Linked DNA regions of Homo sapiens: all the other regions are linked to region 1. Evidence: promoter capture Hi-C in 16 types of primary human blood cells and fetal thymus (Javierre and others, 2016). All regions are on one chromosome and are shown on one strand. The core of a region is centred on a gene start or on the middle of the fragment in contact, and the rest is flanking DNA. Distances in the headings are between cores, read along the strand shown. Region 1 holds the start of FRZB (frizzled related protein). Region 2 overlaps PDE1A (phosphodiesterase 1A). Region 3 overlaps PDE1A (phosphodiesterase 1A).

Region 1 (4,974 bases), core at 1,264-3,763:
AATAAAGGAATAATTTGTAAAAACAAACACTGTTCAAGGGTAACTAACCAGAAAAATGAACACAACTAGACAAGGTACTCAAAAGGGCTTCCTCAAGACAGTGACATTTATTTTGGGCTTTTATAAAAACAAATTTGGATTAAAGTTGTAAGGGGACCTATTAGACAAAGAAGATAGCTGACTTTTGTGCAGGGGAAGGAAAACAGACTTTGTTTCAAATAGTTGTAGAACCTTTAAAACTATTGGCACATTTCTTCTCACACTGTAAGACTTAAGATGAACAGAAAAATGTATTTAGCAAACAATCTACTACATCTACTCCTGATGTTTTTTCTTCTAATTATTGAAAATCTCAGCTATATTTTTCTTATACAAAATAGTCCCAAAATGTTCTAATGTTGACTGTCTTTTAAAGTTGTTTTTCCTCTAAATTTTACTTGATAAATCATTTTAAATTCGTTTGTACAATTTTTGAATTTGTTCTCTTACATGACACTAGATAATTGTAGACCAGGCAAAGTTTGTATACTAACTGACTCCCTGTCTACCATCTGGTGTTCCCCGCCCCCGCCACCATAAGTGGAACAAACTTCCTTCCAAAAAAATTTACAGCAGTCACAAACTGCTGTTTATGATCATTTTAGATATAAAATTCCATAACTCAAGTTAGCATTGACATTTTATAAGTGCTGTCAAGTCACTCTAGGGAATGAAAATGAGCATCTCACTATGTGCTCTGAAGTGGGGACATATTTCTCTGCTTGTTATGGACGGTGAGAGATGGCTAAATTGAAGCAGAGAAATATTTCAGTGATGCAGAGCAAAGGTGACTTCCTGTTTTGTTTCAGGTTTTGTTTCCTTCTCCTCTCAATGAAGGCTGTGTTTTCTGACATTCGGCAATCCTTTTGCTCAGTGATTTCCCATTGAGAGGGCATAGTGTGAAGGCCTCTGCAGGTCATTCCATTTACAATATAAGCTGAAAGGGTAGAGTGGGGCGGGGGTGGGGGGAAGAGGGAGCTCATTAGTGGAAGAAGCAGACCAGGAGGGGATCTGTTTTCCATTTTCTCCTCCAGATTGAACTCATCTGGATGGAAAGGTTTTGATTGTTGTTATAATCATCATTATTACCTGCGTGATGTCGTTTTCCTACACTTTTTTTTTAAGTGTCGGGCAGAATTGTTGCTGAGAATAACAAATAATATCTGCCATGTTATCCGTGAGCAAAATCAGAAAAAAAAAGTCCAAGTGTATTAGAGCTGTTAGTTTCCACGTTAACCCTTAAGGAGCAAAGCTCAAGAGTTCTAATTCCACTAGGTGGGGGGGGCGGGAATAGAAGGAAAAAACCCCTTTTCCTTGCTTCTGGTGGCCTATTTGTAGTCATGAACAGCATTTCTTTGTTTCTCTCTCTCTTTTTTTTTTTTTTTAAAGGCAATCCTCCCCCCACCTCCTCCCCCGCAGTTATTGAAAATGGAGACCTCTGTAGTCACTAGCTCTGGGTTGATATGGCTCCACCGTTGCTCGCAGGGGTCTGTGTTTTCCGCTACTTGGACAAAGTGACATTGCTTAAGCCTTTCCCCCCACCAGGTCTGACTTTCTGCAGAGCCAGTGATTGCAGAGGAAAAGCTGTAGTTTGCTTAAAGGAAATACCTCCAGGAAGGAGGGTCTCGGGTGGGTTCCCAAGTGGGGAACTAGGGGGACTTTTCCGTAGGGAATTGGGGTGGGCTCTTCAGTGAGGGGCTAGGGGCTCGTTTCTGGGGCCAAAGACGGGTTCCCTAGTGTGAGGGCGCGCTCGACTCGGCGCTGTCTTGGGGTCTCGCACTCGCACGGCTTCGCACCCCACCGCCTGCGACTCCCAGGCCTTCTCTTCCCCGGGCGCCCACTCCATTCTCGGGAAGAGCAGCCGGCACTGGAGGGCAGAGACTGCCCCAGGGGCGGAGCTCCCTCTCAGGCGGGAGGTAGGAAAGTGCAGAGCCGCCCGGGCAGAGGCACAGACGTCCCTGCGGGGCTCCTCCTGAGCGTCCCTCCTGCCAGCCAGGGTCGCAGCCGCAGCGGCGGCCGCAGCTCTTAGCCCACACAGGACTTGTAAACTCTTACTGCACCCTTCTCTCCCATTAGGAGCTTTTCCTCCCTCCTTCCCCCCAACCCCTCTGTCCTCCTCACTTTGGGGAATTTAATGCTTTCTTTAGCATCTTTTTGTGTGCGTGATCTAGGGGAGGAGACACCCCAGAGCTCCAACTAGCTCTCAGCTGAATTCTACTTTTGTTTTTATGTCTTCCTCGCCTCCTCTCGTGTCCCTCTTATCTGACTGATCTGCGAAGTCTGATGCTTCTGCCAGAGGGAGAGGAATAAATAGATGTTGCTGCTTCCGAAGGCTTAGACGTTGGGAAAGAGCAGCCTGGGCGGCAGGGGCGGTGGCTGGAGCTCGGTAAAGCTCGTGGGACCCCATTGGGGGAATTTGATCCAAGGAAGCGGTGATTGCCGGGGGAGGAGAAGCTCCCAGATCCTTGTGTCCACTTGCAGCGGGGGAGGCGGAGACGGCGGAGCGGGCCTTTTGGCGTCCACTGCGCGGCTGCACCCTGCCCCATCCTGCCGGGATCATGGTCTGCGGCAGCCCGGGAGGGATGCTGCTGCTGCGGGCCGGGCTGCTTGCCCTGGCTGCTCTCTGCCTGCTCCGGGTGCCCGGGGCTCGGGCTGCAGCCTGTGAGCCCGTCCGCATCCCCCTGTGCAAGTCCCTGCCCTGGAACATGACTAAGATGCCCAACCACCTGCACCACAGCACTCAGGCCAACGCCATCCTGGCCATCGAGCAGTTCGAAGGTCTGCTGGGCACCCACTGCAGCCCCGATCTGCTCTTCTTCCTCTGTGCCATGTACGCGCCCATCTGCACCATTGACTTCCAGCACGAGCCCATCAAGCCCTGTAAGTCTGTGTGCGAGCGGGCCCGGCAGGGCTGTGAGCCCATACTCATCAAGTACCGCCACTCGTGGCCGGAGAACCTGGCCTGCGAGGAGCTGCCAGTGTACGACAGGGGCGTGTGCATCTCTCCCGAGGCCATCGTTACTGCGGACGGAGCTGGTGAGTTTTGACACGGCCCACCCTTCCCTTACCCTACAGCCTCCTCAATTCTTGGAGTCCTTGTTACTAGCCTTTACTCTCTAATTTTTTTCTCTTCGGATCACTTAATCTCTCCCATAACTGCTCCTCTATCAAAGACCCTTCTTCTTCTTTCTTCTTTTTTCAAAAACAAAAACAAAAAAACCCTCACCTTATCACCTTCCAAACTGATGCACTCTGGCACTGTGTTCCAATAGGCGATCTTTCTAAAACAATCCATGCATTCCAAACCCATCACACTTCTACTCCACAGGAATCCTTCACTTCAACTCCTTACATGTGCAAGTAGCCACATTTTGTAAAGTGATGCTCTTTTTCTTTTAAAATGTGTTTATAATCATTGGGTTTTCTTTGCTGATTCTCAGGCAATCTCAGTCATCAGGTTTCTGTATCTTTAGTGTCTTAGATGCTTGTTAAGATTGTGTGGAGGAAACAGAAAACTGAAGCCCCATTTTCTTCTAATTAAAAATGCCAAGATAATTTCAATAACCTTACTCTAACCGACAGATGTTAGGGGTATGTGTTTGCTCAAGATCCAGTTTGAGCAATTACCTTCACCTTAAATTTCCCCCTCCTTTCAATGAGATAAATTGTTCTTCCATTCCAGAATGAAACAATTGTGAAACATTGCTATGCACTGTTAATTAGCTTCTGTGGCTTGCCATAGAGCTGGCAGACTGAAATTACTGAGCTCTTTTCACATGCCCACATGCCTTCAAGTCATTTTATAAGTGGCATACAGATGAAAGGAGTTATATTTAAGGCGTGTTATCATACACTCACGTAATGTTATTTTAAATCTCACCCCTTATTCCACTCTCATGTTTTGAAAAAAAAATTGTCTTTAATACCTTATTTCATGCTCCTTTTCCGTGTGTGCACCAACCACAGTCATTTCAGTCTTTCCCTACCATAAAACTTTATTGCAGCTCTAAATTTAATGGAGTCAATCACAAGTTGTTTTCTCACTAGTGTTTAGTCTAATTATGACATTTGTAACTTTAAGACCCCAACTAAACCTACTTCATTATGGTCCATTTAATTCTAACTCAGTATTACTTCTACCAACTAACCCAACCTCAAATTTTACCCTTCATATATTTTATAAAGAAGGCAATTTTTTTTCATGAGTGGTCCTCTTTCATACCACATCCCCCACCCCCCAACAACTCTGTTCTTAGATGTGTTGACTTGGTTGCCTCCATCTGTTTATTTCTTGGGCATCAACTTTCCTTCCTCTTTCAACTTGCGCAGTCTAGGCGCATGTCCCCAGTCCATTTCCAGGTAGTAATTCTTAGTTATCGGGAAATTGATTTGGAAAAATTACCTTCTGTGCACGTTGACTCATTTAACAAAGTGAGAGAAGGAGAAGTAATTGTAAAAATAGCTGAAGGAAAAAAAATAAACAGAAGAATTTCAAGAACTTTTTAATGGTGACCTCACTTAGTTTATCACTTTTTGAATATACCTATTGTCTTCTTGATTTTAATCAAGAACCAAAAGCTAGTTGTGCAAAATCATCACAGAAATGTATTTGCTATTAATCTTTGCTAAAAGAGCATGCTTGAGGCTTCGTACTCACTAAAGTCACAGACTGCAGAGTCTGGAAGTGCTCAGTGCAGTTGCCGCTCTGGTTTGCCAGGCACTTAGAATCAGTTAAATGCAGGTGCTCCTCTCAGGCCAAGGGCTAGGAATGAGGTGGCAGTGGTTCAGGCTGAAATGCATTCCTCCCCGTAAAGCACAAAACTTGCTCTTAAACCTCCCTTAGAGGTGGACCTAGAGTGAGTGAGGTTTGGCAAGGTTAATGGCTCTCAAAAAGCCATAGTCAATATGGATAGGAAGCAGTTTCATTAAGTGTCC
Region 2 (4,974 bases), core at 1,677-4,176, 680 kb after region 1:
CTCAACCACCATTGTGGGGTTACACATTGCTGATGCACTAAGACGATCAAATACAAAAGGCTCCATGAGTGATGGGTCCTATTCCCCAGACTACTCCCTTGCAGCAGTGGACCTGAAGAGTTTCAAGAACAACCTGGTGGACATCATTCAGCAGAACAAAGAGAGGTGGAAAGAGTTAGCTGCACAAGGTAGTGTTGTTTATGAGGCCTTACTGCCATCTCTCTCTGTCTTCACTTCTCCTCTAAGAGTTTGGATTACTTCTTCTAGATTTCTTCTTCTATAGAATATGTAAGCCCTTGATGGTATTGGGAATTTGGCTACTCTTTGATCATTCATGAGAAAGTTGGCTCATTTATTAGATAAAAAGAGGTTCTGGTTTGTTTGTGCCACATGGGCTGCAGATCTGTGTGTCAGTGGGTGCTGGCAAACTGGATACTGAAAGATGAGATAATGAAATGGTGACAAAACTTTGTGGTACCATATAAACTCCTGTGCTTTCGTAGAGGTGCTTTCCAGCCTGGATTTTACTTGGTAAGTGGCTTTTGTGTTGCATTAAGTGTGTTATCACTTCATGTCAGAGACTTGGGTGTGTTTTTTTTCTGTTTCACTAAGTTGCTTTTTTGACTCAGAATTTAGACAGGAATTGGGGAAATCATTAGTAATCAACCACCACAGCAATCGCATGGGAAGGTAGCTACAGTTATTTCTGACATATTAGCTGCTTCAAATTAATTAGTCCATTTAGTAGGTTTGTGAGTTAGTATTCAAACAGTTATTATCTTTCGTGCAGGAATTAGCTTTCATATCCAGATCTGGCCCCTGCCTCTTCTCACACTCATTCCCACAGCTCTGTCTCCCTTATACACTACACTCCCTGCACAATGGCCTCTTGGAAGTTTCTTAAAATACTCCAGGGTCTTTGTAGTTATTTTTTCAGCCAGAAATTTTTTCCTTGTGTTTTTTGCAGCTTTAATATACTCAGGAATAAACTTACTTTTCTTAAAATGGATAATATAAGATCAAAATAGAGTGTTAAATCATATTTATAGTCAGAAAGACACAATATTGAAACGTTTTCAATTATCCCAAATGTCAACCATAAATATAACATGTTTCCAGTGAAAATTCCAATACATTTTTCATGGAATTTAAGAAATTGATCCTAAAATCTATATGGTATTGCAAATACCTAAGAATACTCAAGACACTCCTGAAGGATAATAAAGTGGGAGCACTTGCCATATATCAAAATTTACTCTTATACTGAAGTAATAAATTTAGTGTGGCTGTGATATAGAGATAATAAGATGGGCCTTGGGAATAGACCAGAGAGCCAAAAATAGCACATTAATTCCTGCAGAACTTGACAGATGGCAGACACACACATTCGTATATGCAATCTTTTGTATGTTCTCACATATTTACCCTTATGATATTCTTCATTTCTTCTTGTGTGTCAGAGCTACTATTTGGTATCATTTCTCTTCACACTGGAGTACTTTCTCAAGTATTTTCTTATAACACAGTTATACTGACAAACAATTAGATTTTCTTTATCTGGGAATGTCTGTATCTTACTTTTATTTATGAATAATTTTACTTGATTTAGAATTGTTGAATGATTTTTTTTTATTTTAGCACTTTTAATGTGTAATTCTATTGCCTCTGGCTTCCATAGTTTCTGATAGTGTTGGCCAAAAATAAATTGTATTGTTGCTTCCTTGTATGTACTGAGTATTATCTTTTTCTTTCTGTTTTCTAGACTTTATTTTGACTTTCAGCAATTTGATGATGATATATCTAGGTCTTTTTTTTTTTCAGTATTCTACTTAGTGTTCACTAGCTTCTTAAATCCACAAATTAATAATTTGCTTCAAATTTAGAAAGCTTTCTGTCATTTTGTTCAATATTTTTCTTCTGCCTCTTTCTCTCTGTTCTCTCCTTCTGAGGATTGTGTTATGCATAACTTAGGATTCTGGAAATTGTCCTGGATGCTCTGGATCTCTGTCAATTTCTTTAATTGTTCTTTCTTTCTTTCTTTCTTTCTTTCTTTCTTTCTTTCTTTCTTTCTTCTCTTCCTTTCCTTCCTTCTTTTGTTCCTTCCTTCCTTCTTCATTCATTTTTGATTGGCTGCTTTCTAATGATTTATCTTCAAGTTTACTGTTTCTTTCTCTGCCACCTCAATCCTGCTGTTGATTTCACTGAATTAACTTTTTATCTCAGCTACTTTTTTCAATTTTATTATTTCCATTTGGTTCTTTTTTATAATGTCTATTTCTCTGTTGATATTTTATATTTTCATTCATTGTTAGCATATTTTCCTTTAATTCTTCAAGATTATTTTCTTTAATTTTAAAAACATATTTAAAAAACTTGTCTTGAATTTTTTGAAATCAATTTTAAAACTGACTATAAATGGCCTTTCTATGGCTCTCTAATTTCTAGGGTTTTTCTGTTAAATCCTGCTGGTTTACCCTTTACCCCAACTTGGACCCCAACCCTAGGCTGACAAAGCTTGGGGCTCTCCTCATCTAGTCTAAGTGGATTCACCATTTTATATTCAAGTAACCAGAATTATTTGCTGCCTTCCCATTCCAAGTTGATTCTACCACATCCAACAGGAAAGTTGGCTTTTGCTTCCATTCCCAGGTCAGAGTTGGAGAGGAAGATGGAGGAGTGGGAGTAACTTCAGGCAAGAAGGTCACAGGTTCCTGCTGTTTTTACCTGAATGTCCAACAATTTTTTAAGAATAAATGTTTCTCAAATTATTATGTCCCTTTGGTTGATTTCCAGAGTCATTGAATAGTTGTTTTTATTAATGCTGTCCAGTTTTACACTTGCTTTTTCATGAAGAGAAAAAACTCGACTTCTTTACATCACTATAGCAGGAAGTATTCCTCTTCACCATAGGTTTTAAGAGAATTAAATGAGTTTATTAATATAATTTGCTTAGAAGTGTCTAGAGTACTAAGCGCTATATGAGTTAGCTGTTATTACTATATTATTTATGTTTCTGCCATGTGTTCTAGAAATAAGGGTTATAGGGCTACTATATAGAAACTAGGGGTGTCCCTAATGCTGAATTCTAAATCCAGCAAAACTATTCAGAAATAAAGAAAAATAAAGACATTACCAGATTAAGAAAATCTAATTACTATGGAAATTGGGGATAATTTCTATATAGTAAACTGGTAAGGAAAGCCTTCACTGAGGAAGAAATAATTTAAATAAATACACAATGGAGGTTAGAAAGAGAATGATGGAGAGGTCTGGGAGGGTGGGTGTTAACAAATTTTTAAAACGGATTGGCTACCACATTATCTAGGAGGCCAAGCTTGCCTGACATGCCAGAAACAACAAGAAGGGCAGTGAAGCAGGAAGAAATTGGACAAGTGGGAATAATGTAGGCAATGTGATGAGTGGGGAATGTGGTGCCTGACCTTTGGTTTTGGCCCGAGAAAGACAGGAAACCAAATGTAGAGTTTTGAGAAAAAATGTTGATTGATCTGAACTGAGGTTTCAAAAGGATTACTCTGCTACAGAATGGAAAATGTGCTTTTGTTTGGGTAGTAAAAATAGAAACAAGGAGATCAGAAGGAAGGCTGTTGTTCATAACCCAGGAGACACATGGGAGCTTAGACCAAGTAGTAATGGTTGAGAGGGTCTATAATTTCTGGATATGTAAAGATTGTGGCAGTATGTGTGAGTAGAAGGAGGGTAAGCAAAAAGAGATTGGATTCTGGATATACAGATATTTTGAAAGCTGAACTGATAGGATTTGTTACCAGATTAGATGTAGGAAACAAAGTGAAGAGAAGAATCAAAAATGATGCCAGGCTTTTTGGTTTTCTTACACATTATTTGTATATAGGTAAAATTATATAATCATTTCATGGAACAATTTGGCATTCTGTAGGAAATTTAAAGATGCATGTGCCATACTTCTCGACAATTTTGCTTCTGTATTTTTACCCCAGAGAGACTTTTGTGCATATGCATCAAAGACATGTCTAAAATATTCACAGCAGCATTGTTCATGACTGCAAAATAAAGTGTAAAAAACAGTAAAATTGATTTATATACTGTAGTATGTACATATTATGGAACAGTATAAAACTGTTAAAATTTAACTAATCACCACAGGAATGAAGGACACAGTGTTGCACAAAATAAGCAAACTGCTGGGCTTTAGTAGGCGGTTTTCCCCTGACAGTGTGAAGGAGACTGAGAGGTTTGGACTAAGCAAAATTCACCACAACACAGCAAAGCGGCTGTGTCCAGACTGCTTCTCTAGATTCCTCCTCACTGGGCAGGGCATCTCTGCAGGAAATCCAGCAGCTCCAGTCAGGGGCTTACAGACAGGACTCTCAACTCCCTGGGACAGAGCACCTGAAGGGAGAGGCAGCTGCAGTCGCAGGGTCAGCGGATTTAATCTTTCCTGTCTGCTGGCTCTGAAGAGAGCAGCTGACCCTAACAAGGGGGACTCTCCCAGCAGAGTGCACCAGTTCTGCTAAGGGACAGACTGCCTCCTCAAGCAGGTTCCTGACTTTGCGCCTCTTGACTGGGAGAGACCTCCCAACAGGGATCAATAGACACCTCATACAGGAGAGCTGAAGCTTCCAGAGGAAGGAGCAGACAGCAATCTTTGATGTTCTGCAAACTCCATTGGTGAAACCTAGGTGACAGGGTCTGGAGTGGACCCCCATCAAACTGCAGCAGACCTGCAGAAGATGGGTCTAACTGTTAGAAGAAAAAGTAACAAACAGAAAGCAACAACAACAAAAGCATCAACAAAAAAGACCTCCTACAAAACCTCATCCAAAGGTCATCAGCTTCAAAGATCAAAGGTAGATAAATCCATGAAGATGAGGAAGAAACAGTGCAAAAACGCTGAAAATTCCAAAAGCCAGAATGCCTCTTCTCCTCCAAATGATTGTAACACTTCTCCAGCAAGGACACAGGACTGGACAGAGA
Region 3 (4,974 bases), core at 1,404-3,903, 640 kb after region 1:
TAAGGGCCAAATGCAAGGAATTTAATAACGACATACAAGCAAACCAAAAACTGTTTCATTGGTGCTTGTTTCCAAGTGATTAAAAATACCATTTGAAGCTCTTACTATTATTTTTTGAAGGAAGTATTTTTAAAAGAGACTGAATACTTTTTATCAGATTTTTAGTTTGGTTCTAGCATATTATAGCACATAGAGTTGGCCTCCAGAAAAATGTGTTGAATGAAATTTGAAACGTGCCTACTCAAATAGAAAATTAACGCATAGCTTTATGGTTGCCCACTTACTGTTCAATACTAAACCTACTGTATGTGTATAAACAGTAGGCCTTCCTGCTAGCAGTTTCTGATAACCATTAGAATGGACTACAGTGCTTCTATAGATTTTCAAAGCAAAATCATGAGGTGGCTGGAGTGGTTTATATCCCTGCTCACTCTCCTCTCTCTCTGTTAGGGGGTACTTTCCAGTTTCCCTACTGGCCTGCTTGCTTCCCTAGGGAACTGCATGAAATGCGAGTATTACTATCCTCCTCCTCAATCAAAAGGCCCACTTCCTTTTCCTCACCACTTGTCCCTCAAGCAAAGTATTAGTAAATCAGCCAAAGATAGAGCAAATAATAATAGTTGAAAAGTAGTGTAAAAAATACCTTTTAATAATTAAAGATAGTGTATACTCTATCTCGCTATGATATTTACATATTTTTCTATCTTTCTTTCTTTCTTTTTGGAGATGGAGTCTCACTCTGTCACCCAGGCTGGAGTGCAGTAGTGCGATCTTGGCTCACTGCAACCTCTGCCTCCTGGGTTCAAGCGATTCTCCTGCCTCAGCCTCCTGATTAGCTGGGATTACAGGCGTGCACCACCACACCTGGCTAATTTTTGTATTTTTTTGTAGAGATGGGGTTTCACTATGTTGGTCAGGCTGGCCTCGAACTCCTGACCTCGTGATTGGCCCATTTCAGCCTCCCAAAGTGCTGGGATTACAGGCATGAGCCACCACACCAGGCCGATATTTACATCTTAAAACAGGACATAAATATCAAAACTTTAGCCAAACTGCAAACTCTTATGGTGAAATTTCAAGCAATGTAGCAAGTGAGTAAGAAAGAAAAACCGGGACTATTTTTTCTGTATTTCCCAATTGACATCATCTATGTAACTAGCAATTCTACCCTAAATTGAGGTCCACTCTGAGAAAATGATTTATGGCAGGAAGTTGGAGAGAGATTAAAGATAATGGCAGTATTATGGTATTATCAAATGTATTAAATCACTTTAGTAACTTTGGGATTAAAGAAAAGGTTTTGATGCTTTATAAAGCATTATGGCCTCAATTTTGTGGACCCATGGATACTAAGTGGTCCTGTCCTATGAAACTCTGGTCAAAGTGTAGTTTGACATGCTAAATTGAAAGATGACCTGCTAAATGTACAATGCCTTATCTTTTGAATAAATTCTCGTAGAAACAGTATGATATTGGCACCTAAAGTATTTATTCTTTTTTCTACAGGATGTTGATAAATGGTCTTTCGATGTATTTGCCCTAAATGAAGCAAGTGGAGAGCATAGTCTGAAGTTTATGATTTATGAACTGTTTACCAGATATGATCTTATCAACCGTTTCAAGGTCAGAAACATGGAACAAAAGTGAAATGCTCTTAGAATTGGTTATTTGAGTAAGAATGAAAATGCAGAACATTTGAGTAATTAAGCAATTCATTTTAGGATGTTTTAGTTAGCAGGTCACAGAATTAAGGTGATGAGGTCTTTATATGATAGAACCATTCTCCACAAGTCACTGACACATCTATATATCCACCTAGAGATCATGAGGCCACTATAGCCTCATTCCAGCAAGATGCCAATATCCCCTGACTTATTCACAAAACACTCACATAGGGTTTGGCAGCTATGTCTTAAAGAAATATGACTACTCCAGCATTCCTAAAATACAGAATGAACCTTTATTGCCAGCTTTTCTTAAATTAGAATGAAGGGGTTTCTAATTAACTTCATTTAGAACCATCCAAGCAATAGATTTGATACAGACTACTGAGCAGATTGTAGCTTATTACTTTCATCATTTCCTGTAGAATCATCACATTTTTAGAGCTATAAAGTACTGAGAGATAATCTATTTTAACCTCTTTGTATTAAGATAGAAAAACTAGACTCCACTAATTGTAACTGGAAATATTTACCCTTCTACGAATTAGCCTTCCTACTCTCCGGAAGATACTAAAATTTCAAGCCTATAGTACAAGTAAGGCTATTATTTAATCTGTCCTAGTCAAATACTTGGGGGTTACAATCTTTCTTTTTGGGAATGAAAGTTAACATGTTCATGAAGTGGTTTTTCAGAACAATCAACATTTGACATAAAGAAACTACTGTCCACATCTGACTCACTAATATGTTCCATGACAAACAGTGCTCAGGTTGATTTAGTACCACTTTTTTGGTCAAAATATAATTATAATTATTACTTTCCACAGATTCCTGTTTCTTGCCTAATCACCTTTGCAGAAGCTTTAGAAGTTGGTTACAGCAAGTACAAAAATCCATATCACAATTTGATTCATGCAGCTGATGTCACTCAAACTGTGCATTACATAATGCTTCATACAGGTATCATGGTAAGACAGTCTTTGTAACTGAGGTTTGTTAGTTTGGAAGCATTCCAAACTTCCATTCCTATAAGTTTCTATTGTCTCTTTAATGCCCATAGAGGTATTCTAAGTAATAAGTATTATAAAGAATAATTGTTTGGATTTTTGAAGCTTAATGTGTTATAATACACATTTTTCAAAAAATACTTTAAGTCAGTGCAAAAAAGATAACCAGAGGCAAAAAAAAAAAAAGTTTCCCAAAATTTGGACTACCAAACATTTTTGTTTGTAAATTCCTTTATTCTGCAGGAGTCAACCAAAAAAAGTGACCTAGAGAAAAAGTCTTTAGAAAGAAAGTTATAGCACTCTTTTTCTCATTCCTTATGTGCTCCTAACCTGACCTTAGTCGCTTTTGCTCTCTTACTCATATTACTAATCACAGTCAAATTCTAATAGGGATTTGGGGAAATTATTAATGTCAATTTTTGCAAAATTTCCTTCCTCTTCTTTGCATTTGATGAATCAGTGAATGGGTGACTAAACGATTCAGTGATGCAAAGCCTGAAATAACAGTGAGTGTATGACAGGAACTCTGAGAGAGTTGGGAATTTTTGTAATGTCTTAGAACTCAGGATGATTCCCAGAAGGTAAAAAGTGAGGAACTGACCTTCCTGTGAAGGTGCAAAACTGAGCTGGGTTCAAAAAAGGAGCAGGCCATGTGAGATTTCTAAATCCTAGCACCTGCTTTAATCGTGAAGTGCAGTGAGAAAATGCCATTTCAGCCTAGGAGGCAACCAGAATTTCATCATTTAAAAAAAAATTCCTGCTTGAATGCATTTTTTTTACACTTGCTACAAGTGTAAAGGGAGCCAAATAAAAGTCTACTATATCAGCTTCACCTGGTGTGAAGGTGACATTGAAGAGATGTGGGTGTCATATTAATTGGTAAATAGAGAAAATCAAATCCACAATGTGGTTTTACCCTCAGAATTATAAGGAAGACTGTTATGGGACCAAATAAGCCGTTCCAACTTCTCTGTAAGACTAGGGAATTTGGCCCAGCCTCGCATGACTCCTAGAAAGTTAAAGTTGTTAGCAAAGATCACATAGTCACTTTCTGAGACAGCTATGACTTACCAAATATAAATGTAACTTTCTGATTTTATTCATCCTTTAGCAAAAATGTGTCACTGGCCTCTTTACTCATCCATTAATTTAACCATTACAAAAATAGTCTGGTGGTAGACCTTTAGTGTTTTCCAGAACCAAGAAAATACCTTTGAACTAAAGAGAATAATGAGAACTTTTACCATAGATGGAGAAAGGGAAGACAACATGAGTTTATGAATGTATTGACTATTTTGTCTAAACTAGGTTACACTGTCAGCTTGACAATTTTTGGAAAGTTATTTTAACAAGTTTTCTCTACATTAAAAAGTAGTGATAGGTGACTATTAAATTTCATGTATATGAATGTGTTGGTTCTTTGAAACAAAAAAGCTTTATAGAAATTTTCATTAGGAAAAAATCTTTAGTTCTTTCTCACCCCTCAGATTTGATATAAAGAAGACTGGGCCATCTACTTTAGTGTTTTAGTTGATGCCCTGCTATTTCAGGGTGGCCCTATCAGTGTGACATTTATGAAGCACTCTAGTAGCAGCCCAGTACTGTCAGGAGACTAATGCATGTTGTCATCTGCAAGATGTTTTAAGGACCATTCCTGAAAGGGATTGCAATTAAGCCATTGTCCTTCTGTTTGTTAATGTCATAAGGGACGCCCTCAAGTCTGGATGTAGACAATGCCGAGGAGAGTTGATGCTCATACACCTGCTTGTCCCCCTATCTCTCTCCTTTTGTCACTTGATACATTTGTAGTCCTGTGCCATGGTGACAGTGATGCACAGTAACTCAGTCCATTTGCTAAGGAGCAAATGTTTTATAAAGTGCTGTCAAGTCACCTTCAAATGTCTCTTTGAACATGGAATTATACAAGGGCCTTGGCCAGAAAACATTTGCATTAGAGGGCTCCTGGCACTGCGTTCTCTCTAATACTAAGAGTAGAAGGAGGAGAGATGACTGTAAATCTAGTTCCTTTGGAATTTTTAGTGCACTGACTACACAGAAACAGTCTTCCACACTTTGGAATGACTGCATTTTTCTCTGATCAGTCTACAGAACATTTAGTACTATATCTTTCTACAAATTATGTGGAAATTCTGTTCTTATAAATGGCTTCCAATATGATACTGTTTGGAAGAGGAAAGAGAGCATGGACTCAGGAAGCAGTCAGACACGAGTTTAAAACCATGCCCCACCACTTTCTAATTCACTAGCTCTACATTGCTTCCCTTGTCACTAAAATGCAGTTA

The links. The method cuts DNA at HindIII sites, captures the fragments that hold promoters and counts their contacts. A CHiCAGO score of 5 or more calls a contact.
Region 2: a contact is called between a fragment that was not itself captured here and the fragment with the promoter of FRZB in region 1, in 1 of 17 cell types (M0 macrophages). The highest score is 6.9, in M0 macrophages.
Region 3: a fragment that was not itself captured here is called in contact with the fragment with the promoter of FRZB in region 1 in 1 of 17 cell types (M1 macrophages); the score reaches 5.1 in M1 macrophages.

What each region holds. Positions count from the first base shown.
Region 1 is chr2:182,864,176-182,869,149 of GRCh38, reverse strand. It overlaps FRZB (frizzled related protein), which reads left to right and starts at 2,513. Exons shown (of 6, transcript NM_001463.4): 1 at 2,513-3,075. The coding sequence starts at 2,598. RefSeq lists an enhancer at 2,382-3,350. The HindIII fragment of the contact is 6,424 bases long and covers 1-4,974 here.
Region 2 is chr2:182,181,106-182,186,079 of GRCh38, reverse strand. PDE1A (phosphodiesterase 1A) reads left to right here. Exons shown (of 15, transcript NM_001363871.4): 13 at 1-188. Among named protein-coding and RNA genes, the nearest start is that of PPP1R1C, 200 kb to the right of the region's middle. The HindIII fragment of the contact is 820 bases long and covers 2,517-3,336 here.
Region 3 is chr2:182,227,664-182,232,637 of GRCh38, reverse strand. It overlaps PDE1A (phosphodiesterase 1A), which reads left to right. Exons shown (of 15, transcript NM_001363871.4): 5 at 1,507-1,623; 6 at 2,492-2,632. Among named protein-coding and RNA genes, the nearest start is that of PDE1A, 200 kb to the left of the region's middle. The HindIII fragment of the contact is 251 bases long and covers 2,528-2,778 here.